Regions from separate parts of the Homo sapiens genome. Here all the other regions are linked to region 1. The links are contacts of gene promoters, found by promoter capture Hi-C in blood cells and fetal thymus (Javierre and others, 2016). All regions are on one chromosome and are shown on one strand. Each heading gives the region's core, a stretch centred on a gene start or on the middle of the fragment in contact. The rest is flanking DNA. Distances are from core to core; before and after follow the strand shown. Region 1 holds the start of LYRM9 (LYR motif containing 9). Region 2 has its middle 24 kb from the start of LINC01992. Region 3 overlaps NOS2 (nitric oxide synthase 2). Region 4 holds the start of NOS2 (nitric oxide synthase 2). Region 5 has its middle 21 kb from the start of NOS2.

Evidence for each region. The method cuts DNA at HindIII sites, captures the fragments that hold promoters and counts their contacts. A CHiCAGO score of 5 or more calls a contact.
Region 2: a contact is called between a fragment that was not itself captured here and the fragment with the promoter of LYRM9 in region 1, in 2 of 17 cell types (megakaryocytes and M2 macrophages). The highest score is 6.2, in megakaryocytes.
Region 3: a contact is called between a fragment that was not itself captured here and the fragment with the promoter of LYRM9 in region 1, in 3 of 17 cell types (activated CD4 T cells, M2 macrophages and total CD4 T cells). The highest score is 5.3, in activated CD4 T cells.
Region 4: a contact is called between the fragment with the promoter of NOS2 here and the fragment with the promoter of LYRM9 in region 1, in 10 of 17 cell types (naive CD4 T cells, total CD8 T cells, non-activated CD4 T cells and 7 more). The highest score is 13.1, in naive CD4 T cells.
Region 5: a fragment that was not itself captured here is called in contact with the fragment with the promoter of LYRM9 in region 1 in 1 of 17 cell types (non-activated CD4 T cells); the score reaches 5.2 in non-activated CD4 T cells.

Annotation. Positions count from the first base shown.
Region 1 is chr17:27,891,972-27,894,850 of GRCh38, reverse strand. LYRM9 (LYR motif containing 9) reads left to right here and starts at 1,486. Exons shown (of 4, transcript NM_001076680.3): 1 at 1,486-1,534. RefSeq lists a silencer at 1,305-1,854. The HindIII fragment of the contact is 2,313 bases long and covers 254-2,566 here.
Region 2 is chr17:28,014,709-28,017,587 of GRCh38, reverse strand. No RefSeq gene overlaps it. Among named protein-coding and RNA genes, the nearest start is that of LINC01992, 24 kb to the right of the region's middle. The HindIII fragment of the contact is 4,504 bases long and covers 1-2,879 here.
Region 3 is chr17:27,780,564-27,783,442 of GRCh38, reverse strand. NOS2 (nitric oxide synthase 2) reads left to right here. Exons shown (of 27, transcript NM_000625.4): 6 at 337-499; 7 at 1,337-1,428; 8 at 2,266-2,407; 9 at 2,537-2,676. Among named protein-coding and RNA genes, the nearest start is that of NOS2, 19 kb to the left of the region's middle. RefSeq lists an enhancer at 1-436. The HindIII fragment of the contact is 4,802 bases long and covers 1-2,879 here.
Region 4 is chr17:27,799,119-27,801,997 of GRCh38, reverse strand. NOS2 (nitric oxide synthase 2) reads left to right here and starts at 1,469. Exons shown (of 27, transcript NM_000625.4): 1 at 1,469-1,659. RefSeq lists a cis regulatory region at 932-954, an enhancer at 1,267-1,295 and promoters at 1-1,505, 1,264-1,556, 439-1,556, 1-1,636. The HindIII fragment of the contact is 2,695 bases long and covers 843-2,879 here.
Region 5 is chr17:27,820,100-27,822,978 of GRCh38, reverse strand. No RefSeq gene overlaps it. Among named protein-coding and RNA genes, the nearest start is that of NOS2, 21 kb to the right of the region's middle. The HindIII fragment of the contact is 4,429 bases long and covers 1-2,879 here.

The DNA of each region.
Region 1 (2,879 bases), core at 237-2,736:
GGAAGAGGCACAAGTGATTCTGAAGGTGGAGCCTTTCAGAGGTAAAGCAAACAGCTTGCATCTTCAATATTTTATGAGATCTAGGTATTAGAACCATGTTTCTGATGCAGGAATACAGCTATCTAGGAACAAAAGGGAGATGAGACTACAGAACAGACTGTGAAATTTCTTAAAATTATTAAATGATCCTAAGACTGAGCACAGGAGTGGATGATGTTACTGCAGATTGTTCTTAATAAGGGCTTTAAAAGCTTAATGATTTATTGATTGGCTCTGCATTAATGACGTGCCCTTGATTATGCATGTGTAAATAAGAGGGCTGATTTATGAGGGTACAATTGTATCTTTCAGATATATTTGTCCAAGTCTACATCTTTAAAATAAATGGAAGCAATTATCTGAATATTTCAAGGGAGGGAACCCCACCTTCCCATCCCCCACCCCCGATTTGAGGGAAGTCTAGTATGTTAGGTGAAGAGAAAAAAAAAGAAAAGAGGAAGCTCTAAAGGGAGTTAGGAACAAAACAAAACTTCCGTTAAGAAATATCCCTGCTTCTCTTATCCTAAGAGAAGAAAAACAGATTCCCAGGTGCCACCGGGGAGCAATGTTTTACTTAAAAAAAAAAAAAGAAAAAGGAAAAAGAAAAACCTGTAAGAAGTTGTCCTGTTAAATCAACGACACATGGAGTCTGAAGGAAATCAGCCTTTTCGTTACAAACAGGTTTAAAAAGCCCTGGAGAAGAGAGACGTGAACAGAAGCAATATTATCCACTAACAACCTAACTCCCGCTTAGACATCAGCTGAGAGATCAGCAGCATCATTGAACAGGGGGGTTTGTCTTAAGATAATGACTCATCTTGATTTCTTTCAGGATATAAAACTTGTATTTAAATCAATTCAGAGAAGCACTTGAGCTTTAAACATTAGAGAGCAGGGAGAGCCTATTTAATAAACAGCATTATTTCATTTTCAAAGAATGATACTGGCAGTAGCTCTAAGTTTAAATTTTGTATTATTTTCCTCAATTATAATTATAGATGGGTCTGAAAGGAAGCATGCTTATTACTGTCATATTTATTCTTTTGACAGGTGTTATGGGACTGTAATTTGGTGAAATGATTCAAAACGCAGATTCCTATCCAAACACAATTCTTGTCATCAACACGAGAGGTTCAGGAAAAGTCCTCCAGCAAGCCTTTCAGAGATCTTGAACACCCCATATTCATAGCACAATCCATATTCAGGAATAAGGAGGAGAGAGTGCCTTTAGGGCTTATATCCGGCGTAGCAACAGCCAGAAGGCAGAGTGGGTGTTTGAGGTAACAGGTAACGAAGGCTGTTAGTGGGGACAGCTTTCAACTGGGTGGGGTCGGATCTAGGAAGAGGCACCCAGTAGGACCCCGAGTCCCGCGCGCGGCCGGCAGAGGGCGCTGGGCTCACCGTCGCCGGGCAGGGGCGGTGCCGCTCAGTCCCCGGGGCGCAGGCGCACTCGTCGCCGCGGCGGCGTCCGGGGCTGGCGTTCCCCTGGAGGCTGGTGAGCCGCGCTGCGCAGGCCGAGGCCGAGGGCGGGGGCGCGGGGGCAGCGGCGGCCGGAGCCACTGGGTGGCGGGGGCGGGCTAGGGATGTGGAGGCCTCGGGTGTCCTCGGATCTATTGAAGACCTAGGGGCGACCCGCGCCGGCACCTTTTCCCTTGCGGTCTGCGCTCTTCCACCGGAGAGCTGAGTGCACCGGAGCGCGGCGCCCGGGCTTGACGCAGGCCTGGCCGGGCGGCCTCGGAGGAGCAGGAAAGGCCTGCAGCGCGAGCTAGGGGCGCGAGGTCCGGGGCAGCCCGGAGGCCAGCCTCTCAGAGGCTCACGGGCCTGGCCACTTTTAAAAGGAGAATGTCCCCTCCACCGTCCCTCTGCCCGCGGCACCCGGTGGCCGGAGCAACCTTGTCGTGATGATTTATGCTTCTGCGTAAGAGCAAGTTGCTCCGTGGCCAAAACCCTTTCGCTCCTAGGATTGATCCTTTTTGTGGTTATTGTTTTAAAAAGTTTTATTGAGATATAATTCACGAAGCATACAGTTCACCCATCTAAAGTGCACAATTCAGTGTCTTTTAGTGTGTTTGCAGAGTTGTGCAGCTGTCACCATAATGTTTTAGAACATTACCCCCCAAAAGAAACACCTCCTTTAGCTGTCACTCCCCCCTCCCATCTACTCCCATTCTCCCAGCCCTAGGCAACCACCAATGTACTTCTGTCTCTGTACTTTTGCCTATTCTGGATGTTTCGTATAAATGGAATCATACATTAAGTAGCCCCTTGTGACTGGGTTTGTTCACTTAGCGTAATGTTTTCTGGGTTCACCTGCCATAGGTTCTTGACTTCAGGACAGTTTCCTGCTGGCTTTAGTTTCCTCTGGTAACTTGGGAATCAATTGACATCTATGGAACTTCTGTTATGGTTCAGGTACTATAAACTGTGGAGGAGTGACTAATAACCGTATATATATTTTTCTTACTAATTTCCCTTCATTTCACAGGTGTTGAACTAATACAGTATAGTTTCTTGTTCTTCAGAAGCTTACAGTCAGCAAGGAACAGAAAGCCAAATAAAGTAGGAAAGGGTAAGATGTTCAACGCTGGGCGCAGTGGCTCATGCCCATAATCTCAGCACCGTAGGAGGCTGAGGAAAGAGGATCACTTGAGCCTAGAATTTTGAGACCAGCCTGGGCAACATAGTAAGACTTCGTTTCTATAAATAATTAAAAAAATTAGCCAGACGTGGTGGCGTGTGCCTGTGATCCCGGCCACTTGAGAGGCTGAGGTAGAATCGTTTGAGCCCGGGCAGTTGTGACTGCAGTGATCCCTGATCATGCTACTGTACTCCAGCCTGGG
Region 2 (2,879 bases), core at 163-2,662, 120 kb before region 1:
ACCACCACACCTGGTTAATTTTTGTATTTTTTGTAGAGGCAGTTTTCGCCATGTTGCCCAGGCTGTGCCTGATGGATTTTTTTTGAAATGAATACCTTAAATTTACTCATTTGCCCAGTTGCAAGATTCTCCAAGGCTTTATTTATGCTGGCGTAGCCAGCATCTTTTTAAAAAATGACATTTATATATACTCACTTAGGTAAATTAATGTACCCATCTCAACTGTTCCCTTTGGCTACACGGACAAACTCATATTCCAAAGAATATGACCCTAAAACTGAAAAGATGCAACAACGCTTCAGGCTTTGTGCTGATACATTTGTTAGAAACATTGGATGAGATGATACAGAGCATTTTACACCGTGCCTGACACATAATTGGCACTCAATACATATTAGCTATTGTTATTGAGAAGTACTAGGTCTTTTCTTCTTACATTTCTTGGCATTTGTTAAGTCATGACATTGTGCCAGAGATTACATGGATGGAAAGGTAAAGTGTAAGGAGTAAGGAGATGGGGTGAGAGGCATTTCATGATTTGTCAAATTTTGAATAAAGGAACCTCACTTCTTACAAAAATAAAAAGTACTGGAAATGCAGTAGTAAGTAAAGAACAAGGATGTACACCTGAAGGTAATATTATAAATCAGGAATATAGGAAAAACCACCTGGACCTGGCCTGGCTTTTTTTTTTTTTTCAGGTTCTCACTCTGTTGCCCAGGCTGGACTGCAGTGGCATAATCTTGGCAGCCTTGACCTCCCAGGCTCAGATGATCCTCCCATCTCAGCCTCCTGAGTAGCTGGGACTACAGACACACCCACTATGTCTGGCTGGCCTTGCATTTTGATTTGTTAAAAAATATTTAGTGATAACTTACTATGTGCCAGGCATTGTGTTAGGCATGAGGATACAACAGTTAATAGACAGATTTGGTTCTTACCCTCATGGAGTTTGCTGTCTACTGAGGGACACAACAGTTAATAAAGTAAACATTTCTAGCCATTGAAACTATAAATAATAACAATAAACAAATAAACAAATGGATATGCAATTATAAATTGTGGTAAACAATAACCATCTCTAACAGACAATTCAAACTCGATTTGTCCAAATTAAGTTCTTTTTTCCCTTGTGCCTTGTCCAGTGTTCTCCATCTCAGTAAATGACACCATCATTCACCAATTACTTAGGTCAAAAACCTTGAAGTGATCCTTGACTCAGAATTTTCCCATATCTCAGTCAATCTTGTCTTTTGGCTGTACCTTCCAAAGTTATCCTGAATTCAACCTCTTCTTGCCATTCCTGAGACTACCCTATTGCCCAAGGCATCATCATCTCTCACCAGGAATATACAATGCATCTTGCTGCTTTTAACCTTTCTCCTGTGAGGACTCTTCTCTGCACACCAGTAAGAATGATCCTTTTTAGCATTCTCCCCAGATATATAATGCCCAGGAATAAGTTTAACCAAGGTGATGAAAGACTTGTACACTGAAAACTATAAAAGCATTGCTGAAAAAATTTAAGGAAGACCTATAGAAACGGAAAGACATTCCTTGTTCATAGGTTGGAGACTTAATATTATTTAGATGGCAGTAAAGCCCGAAGTGATTTACATACTCAATGCAATCCCTATCATAATTTTAAAGACTTTTTTGCAGAAATGGAAAAGCCAATCCTCAGATTAAAATGTAATTGCAAAGGACCTCAAATAGTCAAAATGATATTGAAGGAAAAGAACAATGTTGGAAGAGTTATACTTCCCAATTTCAAAACTTACTACAAAGGTACACTAATTAAAACTGTATGGTACTGGCATAAGGATAGAGATATAGAAGAGAATTGAAAGTCCAGAAATAAACTCACACGTTTATGGTGCTGATTTTTGACAAGGACACCAAGTCCATGCAATATAGAAAGAATAATCTCTTCAACAAATGGTGCTGGGACAATTGGATAACCACATACAAAAAAATTAAGTTGGATACCTACTTCATACCATAAGCAAAAATTACCTTAAAATGCATTAATGACATAAATACAAGAGTTAAAACCACAGAACTCTTAGAAGAAAACAAAGATAAATCTTCATGATCTCGGATTTGGCAATGAATTCTTACATAGAACACCAAAAGTATGAGCAATAAACAAATAAATTTTGTGCCTCAAAGGATAGTTTTAGAAAGTAAAATGACAACTTACAGAATGGTCAAAAATATTTGTAAATTATATATTTGGTAAGGGTCTACTATCTGGACTATAAAGAACTCTTACAACTCAACAATAAAAAGACAAACAACCCAACTTTAAAGTTGGCAAAAAGTGCAGGGCAGGGTCGCATGTGCTTGTAGCCCCAGCTACTCAGGAGAAGAATTGCTTCAGCCTAGGAGTTCAAGTGTAGACCAGGTAATATTGCAAGATCCAGGCTCTAAGAATAAATAATTATTTTTTTTAAATGGGAAAAAACTTGAATAGACATTTCTCCAAAGAGAATGTACAAATGGCCAACAAGCACATAAAAATACTAAGCATCATTAGTTATTAGGGCATGACACCTACTAAGAGGGCTATAATTAAGAAAAGATAGATAATAGTAAGTGTTGATCAGGATGTGAAGTAATTGGAACCCTCTTATATCGCTGGTGGGAATGTAAAATGGTTCAGCCATGGTGGAAAACAGTTTGTTGGTTCCTTAAAATGTTAAATACAGAATTATCATATGACCCAGCAATTCCAAGAAGTGTATAAATGAGGACTGTATTTGTCTGCTACTCAAAGACATGTACATCCATGTTCACAACAACACTATTTACAATGGCTGAAAGGTGGAAACAGCCCAAATATCCATCAATGGATGAATGTATAAACAAATTATGGC
Region 3 (2,879 bases), core at 140-2,639, 110 kb after region 1:
ATATGATTAAAGAAAAAGCACCTGAAAATAAGCAGTGTTCCCATGGGCTCAGGACTGGCTAGGTAGTATTTATAGGACTCAATGTAAAAATGAAAATGTGGGCTCTTTATTTTAAAATGATTAAGAATTTCAAGATGGGGACAGCAGAGCATTGAGCGTGGGGTGCTTCTAGGCTAAGTGTGAGGTCCCCAAAGCCAGCCCTGGAGGGAGCTGTCTCTGGTGAGAGGCATCTTGCCCTTCTGATGTCCTATTTCAGTTCCTGCTTCTGTGGATTGAATTAATCCCCATGTAAGGCCATCTCATTGTTGATCTTCCTGCTGTCTTCCTGTCCCCCAGGGCAAAAATAGAGGAACATCTGGCCAGGGTGGAAGCGGTAACAAAGGAGATAGAAACAACAGGAACCTACCAACTGACGGGAGATGAGCTCATCTTCGCCACCAAGCAGGCCTGGCGCAATGCCCCACGCTGCATTGGGAGGATCCAGTGGTCCAACCTGCAGGTGAACTTCCTTAGACTTGAGCGGGAGAGAGCTGGAGGCGGCCAGGCCCTGAGCAGATGGCTTGGAACAGCCACACAGAGCTGTGCCCAGGCCTCCTGGGACTGAAGCCATGGCCCTGGATCCTCTCTTACATTCCCAAATGTTGAGATGGGGCACCTAGGGTCCCTCTCTAGAAGCCTTGAATCCTGTTTCAGCACCAGGGTTTCTAGCTGCCCATTCTCTATTGTGTTAAATTCAGGAGACTAAATGCCATCATTAGAGTAAACCACGACCTTGTTTTTATTACACTTGAGGCCGTGGTGCTGCAAGATGTGTTGTTTTCCTCCAATGCTTGAATTCTTGGCTCCAAGAGAACATTTTATTTAGCCTAGCCTCCTAGGCCATCTTTTTGTTGGGGAGTCATTTGTTGCAGGATAATATCAAAAGCACTTGGACAGAGAAATCGATTAGAACTGCCAGTGAAACCAACTCTGGCTGTGTAGTATGTGCTGGTGTGGGAAAGGACCTAGCCTGGGGCTGTGGCAATCCCGATTCATGGTGCTTTCAAGTCAGGTTTTCTTGGAATTCTGGGTTTGCTGGGGTCTTCTGAGTGGGGTTGCCTGTGCTCCCCTAGAGGGCAGCCATGAAATGGGAGCGGTGGTGCAGATGGGAGGCTGAATTCTTCTGCATGGTGTTGAGTGGCAGGTGCAGATTGGAGGCTGCACTCTTCGGCATGGTGTTGAGTGTTTGTGTGTTGAGTGTTTCGGCTGCACTATTGATTCCCAGTGACTTCTGATCAGCCTCAAAGCCTCTGTCTACCCAGTCTTTGATGGGCATGGTCTGGATGGGCTGTTGCAGGTCTTCGATGCCCGCAGCTGTTCCACTGCCCGGGAAATGTTTGAACACATCTGCAGACACGTGCGTTACTCCACCAACAATGGCAACATCAGGTCGGTGCACATTTCCCAGGGCTGCAGAGGGGCTTGCCTTGCCTGAGAATCTTAGCCAAAAGATGCAGCACTTGGGTCTAGGGGAGGCATCTCCAGCTCCAGGAGAAACCAGGGAGAAAGAAAAAAGAGAAAGACTCAGGCTTCTTCGGGGACTTCCAGTAGTGAGCCCAGCCCCTGTGAGCTCAGCTCCCATCGGCAACCCATGCCCTTGGTTTCCTTCTGATGTGGAGCCACTTGGAGGGGATGGAGGATCTTTAAGAAGTAACTGCTTCACTATTCAGGGTTGGGGCTCCCATTTTTTAGAAGGCATGGGACATTAAGAGGTTACCTTCCTCTCCCAACCAACGAGGTCAAAGCTAATAGGACTGAACAGCTCATTTGGTCATTCATTCATCTTTTTGTTCAGCAAACACTCAGTGCCTACCTAATGCAACTCAACACAGGACAAGGCTGGGAGAGCAGGGGGAAGATGGGGTATGGGGGGGTAGGAGGAAGAGTGACTAGGACCCTAAGATGCTGCTCCAGCTGGTGTGAGCCTATGACCTGCACTAGACAGGCAACCAGCTAACTCAACTGCAAGGACGGAGACATAGGCAGTGAGGGAAAGACTGGCAGATCAGCTAACCCTGCCTGATGGATGGGAAGGCCCCCTTGAGGGGGTGGACCCTGGGTCTTGAGGGAGGGCAGCAGGAGAAGGCATGTCAGGAGGCTGGCTCAGTCAGCTTGGGATCAGGGGCTGCAGAGCAGGTAGGGTGGAGAGGGAGGTAGGGCCAGTGCAGGATGGCTGGGCCCCCACCAGGGCTAGGTGGTAAACAGTACTGTTCCTGTCCTGGGAAGGTCGGCCATCACCGTGTTCCCCCAGCGGAGTGATGGCAAGCACGACTTCCGGGTGTGGAATGCTCAGCTCATCCGCTATGCTGGCTACCAGATGCCAGATGGCAGCATCAGAGGGGACCCTGCCAACGTGGAATTCACTCAGGTACCCGGCCCAGCCTCAGCCACCGGCCATTGGGGCGGGGAGCCCCGTGGTGAGCGAGTGACAGAGTGGAGCCCAGAGGAGACACGCAGCCCGGGCTTACAGACTCACAGGGCCCGTCTTGTTCCCCAGCTGTGCATCGACCTGGGCTGGAAGCCCAAGTACGGCCGCTTCGATGTGGTCCCCCTGGTCCTGCAGGCCAATGGCCGTGACCCTGAGCTCTTCGAAATCCCACCTGACCTTGTGCTTGAGGTGGCCATGGAACATCCCAAGTAAGTAGGCTGAGGGTGCTGGGGGCAAGGGCGAGTCAACACACAGCCCTTCTCCTTTCCTAAGTGCGGCTCCAGCCTTCCCCATACCTTCCCTAAAGCCCAGCCAGCAGCAGGTGACACTCAGGGGGCTGGCCTTCAAGGACTCTTTTGTCACTGTTGCATTCTGCAGCCATTCTGCACTGGCACCTCGGGCCTCAGACAGG
Region 4 (2,879 bases), core at 220-2,719, 93 kb after region 1:
TTGCTCTTCGTGGCAGATGCTCCATAAGCCAGAGCTCTAAGCCGCAGCATTGAGCCGCAGCATTGAGCTGAAGCCTGAAGGGAAGATGGCTTTGATATGTTAAAACTCATTCCAGTTTACTCCTATTTTTCATTCATTCATCCACACATTCACTCAACAAAGATCCTTGAGCTCTGATATCCATGTCTTTTTTGTGGCTCTTAGTTTATCTTTGACAAAGTTAATATATTATGCTGAATTTAACTTGGGAAAGACAAGAAGGAAATGAGTGGACAGTGGTAGCAAAGTGTTGGGACGGTGAGATCAAGGGTGACTTTTTTTCCCTTTGCTTCTCAACTTCTCCCTAATGTAGTTGTTATTTTACTTTTATGATGGAAAAATGCATATGTATGGGAATACTGTATTTCAGGCATTATAAGGAATGAAATTATAGGCCGGGCATGGTGGCTAACCCTTGTAATCCTAGCACTTTGAGAGGCTGAAGTGGGCAGATCACTTGAGCTTCAGAGTTCGAGACCAGCATGGACAACATGGTGAAACCCAGTCTCTACCAAAAACACAAAAATATTAGCTGGGTGTGGTGGTGCATGCCTGTAGTCCCAGCTACTCAGGAGGCTGAGGTGGGAGGATCGCTTGAGCCTGGGAGGCAGAAGTTGCAATGAGCAGAGATCGTGCCACTCCGCTCCAGTCTTGGTGACAGAATGAGACTCCATCTCAAAAATAAATAAATAAATAAAATAAATGAAATGAAATTATAAGAAATTACCACTTTTTCATGTAAGAAGTGATCATTTCCATTATAAGGGAAGGAATTTAATCCTACCTGCCATTCCACCAAAGCTTACCTAGTGCTAAAGGATGAGGTGTTAGTAAGACCAACATCTCAGAGGCCTCTCTGTGCCAATAGCCTTCCTTCCTTTCCCTTCCAAAAACCTCAAGTGACTAGTTCAGAGGCCTGTCTGGAATAATGGCATCATCTAATATCACTGGCCTTCTGGAACCTGGGCATTTTCCAGTGTGTTCCATACTGTCAATATTCCCCCAGCTTCCTGGACTCCTGTCACAAGCTGGAAAAGTGAGAGGATGGACAGGGATTAACCAGAGAGCTCCCTGCTGAGGAAAAAATCTCCCAGATGCTGAAAGTGAGGCCATGTGGCTTGGCCAAATAAAACCTGGCTCCGTGGTGCCTCTATCTTAGCAGCCACCCTGCTGATGAACTGCCACCTTGGACTTGGGACCAGAAAGAGGTGGGTTGGGTGAAGAGGCACCACACAGAGTGATGTAACAGCAAGATCAGGTCACCCACAGGCCCTGGCAGTCACAGTCATAAATTAGCTAACTGTACACAAGCTGGGGACACTCCCTTTGGAAACCAAAAAAAAAAAAAAAAAAAAGAGACCTTTATGCAAAAACAACTCTCTGGATGGCATGGGGTGAGTATAAATACTTCTTGGCTGCCAGTGTGTTCATAACTTTGTAGCGAGTCGAAAACTGAGGCTCCGGCCGCAGAGAACTCAGCCTCATTCCTGCTTTAAAATCTCTCGGCCACCTTTGATGAGGGGACTGGGCAGTTCTAGACAGTCCCGAAGTTCTCAAGGCACAGGTCTCTTCCTGGTTTGACTGTCCTTACCCCGGGGAGGCAGTGCAGCCAGCTGCAAGGTGAGTTGCCTTCATTTCTGGGGAAGCGGCTGTTTTGAGAGGGTTTTGTTTCTTCCTCTTTGAGAAGGCTCAGAAAATTGTGGGAATTTTCTGCCTACAGAGAGAAGGTGTTGGAAAGTCTAGGTAAAAAAATGCCGACATGAGGTTTGGTCATTTGAACATGGCATCTTGGTCAGATTTCTTTTCTGCAAATATTAGCTGTGGTTGTTACATGACAAGGAAAAACTTTCTGAAAAGTTCAAAATGGGAGTTTGTATCTGCTAAGAATTTTTTTTAACAGAGATTATCTTATCAGTCCTTATAACATGTAACCTCCCCACAAATCCTGGTAAGATGGATATATTAAACCCATTTTATGGATGAATAAATGAGTTTCAGTTAAATAACTTGATCCAGGACACATAACTGGTAGAGCTAGGATTCCAGGATTTGAACCCAGGTCTATGGGGCTATAAGTTCTTTTCTTTCTTTCCCTCTTTCCTTCCTTTCCTTCCTGTCCTTTCCTCCCTTCCCCTCCCTTCCCTTCCCTTTCTTTCTTTTTTTTTTTTGGAAACAGCCTTGACTGCCCAGCCTCAAGCAATCCTTCTGCCTCAGCCTCCCGAGTAGCTGGGACTACAGGCACAAGACACCATGCCTGCCTGGCTAATTTTTCAATTTTTTGTAGTCAAGGTCTCCCTATGTTGCCCAGGCTGAACTCGAACTCTTGGACTCAAGCGATCCTCCTGCCTCGGTCTCCCGAAATGCTGGGATTACAGGCGTGAGCCACTGCACTTGGCCTAAAATTCTTACATGGACTATATTCACTACACTGTCTTCTAAAGACAGAGTTTTTGCCTCTTTGATCTTCCTCTTGTCTGTTTCAAAGGAGATGATCTCAGATTTCGAGGGATGAGTGCATTTTTCACAAATATTTCCTCCCCACATAATAAAAGAGGAGCAAGTAATAATGCTGAGTTAGAACAACAACTGCAAAATCTTTAAAAGAAAGGTAGCTACAGCTTGAGTGCTTTCCCCAGTAATAGACCTAAAACTACAGTTGATAATGAGAGCTGCTGGGAAGTGTCTTTCAGGGTCAGGCAAAGGCACCCCTGTTTCAACGACCTCCGGGCTCTTCCTCACCCTGCCTGTGGCCAGTGATGAAGCCTGGCTGGGTCTGGTGGGCCAGCAGGTCCCGCTAAGGAGGCTCATGGTGCATACAGTTTGTCCTTGTTAAGTGGCGA
Region 5 (2,879 bases), core at 119-2,618, 72 kb after region 1:
AGCCTCTTTTTTCACCCTGTAAAGGTGGACTCAGCCCTTCAACACACCCTGCAAATGCCAACCTCATAGCATATTAATAAGAAACAGATGTTGTGGGAAGTCAGGGACCCTGAACAGAGGGACTGGCTGAAGCCATGGCAAAAGAACATAAATTGTGAAGATTTCATGGACATTTATTAGTTCCTCGAATTAATACTTTTATAATTTTTTACACCTGTCTTTACTGCAATCTCTGAACAAAAATTGCAAAGATTTCATGGACATTTATCACTTCCCCAATCAATACTCTTGTGATTTCCTATGCCTGTCTTTACTTTAATCTTTTAATCCCATCATCTTCGTAAGCTGAGGATGTATGTTGCCTCGGGACCCTGTGATGATTGCGTTAACTTCACAAATTGTTCATAAAGCATGTGTGTTTAAACAATATGAAATCTGGGCACCTTGAAAAAAGAACAGGATAACAGCGATGCTCAGGGAACAAGGGAGATAACCATTAGGTCTGACTGCCTGAGAGCCAGGCAGAACAGAGCCATATTTCTCTTCTTACAAAAGCGAATAGGAGAAATATCGCTGAATTCTTTTTCTCAGCAAGGAACAGCCCTGAGAAAGAGACACATTCCTAGGGGGAGGTCTCTAAAATGGCTGCTCTAGGAATGTCTGTCTTATACGGTTGTGGATAAGCGATGAAATAAGCCCCGGTCTCCCGTAGCGCTCCCAGGCCTATTAGGACGAGGAAATTCCTGCCTAGTAAATTTTAGTCAGACTGGTTGTCTGCTCTCAAGCGCTGTCTCCTGATAAGGTGTTATCAATGACAATGCGTGCCCAAAACTTCATTAGCAATTTAAATTTTGCCCTGGTCCTGTGATCTCGCTCTGCCCCCATTTGCCTTATGATATTTTATTGCCTTGTGAAGCATGTGATCTCTGTGACCCACACCCTATTCATACACTCCCTCCCCTTTGAAAATCACTAATAAAAACTTAATGGTTTTGCGGCCTGGGGGCCATCACAGAACCTGCCGACATGTGATGTCTCCCCTGGACACCCAGCTTTAAAATTTCTCTCTTTTGTACTCTTTCCCTTTATTTCTCAGACTGGCTGACACTTAGGGAAATAGAAGAGAACTTACGTTGAAATATTGGGGGTGGTTCCCTTGATAAACAGATATTTTACCAACTCTTTGGTGGAGAGGTAGGAAACAGGTTTTCCATGACACACCACATGGCCAGACTTCATCAAGGCCACCTCATCGCCTGCTCTCCCTCAGCCTCACTCACCTCCTCTTCCGCTACATCTTCCTCTTAGCTCTCTCCTGCTTCCCTTTCTGGTCAAGAGCAATTTCACCCTCTTGCCTTCTCCCCTTTGCCTCCTCATGCCCACTCCCTCAGCCTGCACAGAGCGTTTCTCCAGTGTAGTCTCTGGTCCATCTGCATCAAAATCACCTGCAGGACTTGCTGACAATGCAGTTTCCTGGATCCCACCCAGGACTCAAAAAAACTAGGAATTGGGAGAAGAGGGACCTGGAATCGGTGTTGCTAGCAAGCCCCCAGGTGGTTTGTAAGTGGACTAAAGTTTGAGGACCAGACATGGAAGGTTGGCTTTGGCACCATCAGCTGGATCCAGGAATTTGGAGCCAGGTTGATGGGGTCAAGTGGTATTATACGTGGTGGCCTGTGGGTAGGAAAGCCACCATCTGGGGGTGCTCTATTCAGAAAGGGACTGTGACATGGCCCTACTATTACTGCGTCCAATCTCTGGGGTGAAGGAGGAAACTGCATCACTCTGCTTTGCATGTGGCAGGCCCTGCTTGGAGGCCAGCAATTGATCCCCTTTTCAAAAATTAGGGTAGAAGTGATATGCAGTGCACAAAATCTAATTGTGCAGCTTGATTGATTTTGACATAATTATACTCCTGTTGAACCACTGCCCCCATCAAGATCTACAGCATAGGCTTCCTTGAGCCCCTTCCTCATACCTCCCTGCCACTACTGTAACTACTATTCTGACCTCTATCACCATGGATTAATTTTGTTTGTTTTTGGACTTTGTGTAAATGGAATCACACGGGCTGTACTCTTTTGTATTTGGCTTCTTATTTTTTGAGGCAGAGTCTCACTCTGTCTCCCAGGCTGGAGTGCAGTGGCACAATCTCAGCTCACTGCAACCTACACCTCCTGTGTTCAAGTGATTCTCCTGCCTTGGCCCCCCAAAATGCTGGGATGACAGGCACGAGCCACCATGCCCAACCATATTTGGCTTCTTTTACCCCACATTATGTCTGTGAGATCCATCCATGTTTTTGCACATAATAGAGAGTCTGTCTTTTTCATTGCTGTTTACCAGCGGTCAGCAAACTATTTCTGCAAAGAACCAGATAATAAATACCTTTGGTTATGAAAGCTATAGTCTCTGTCACAACTATTCAACCCTGCCATCATAGCTCAAATGCAGTAATAAGCAACACACAAACAAAAAGTAGGCTACAGTTTGGCCTGTGGGTCACAGTTCACCAATCTCTGCTGTACAATATTTTGTTATAAATAATCATGAATATACGACATGGAAGAATGAGTTATGATGAGAATTAGAAATAATTATGAATAAAGCACTATGTATTCAGTTACCCATTCTCCTGTTATGGGTATCTGGGTTATTTCCAGTCTGGGATGCAATGATTAGTGCTGCACTGTGTTTGGTGAACATATTATGCACACATTTTGTGCTATTGTCTTAGTAGTTACTGCCAAGCAGTTTCTCAAAGCAGTGGTACCAAAGCACACTCCACTAGTAAAGTTGCTTCACATTCTCAAGAACACTTGATACAGTCAAATTCTTTAGCTATAGCCATTTAGGTAGGTGCATCGTGGTATCTCATT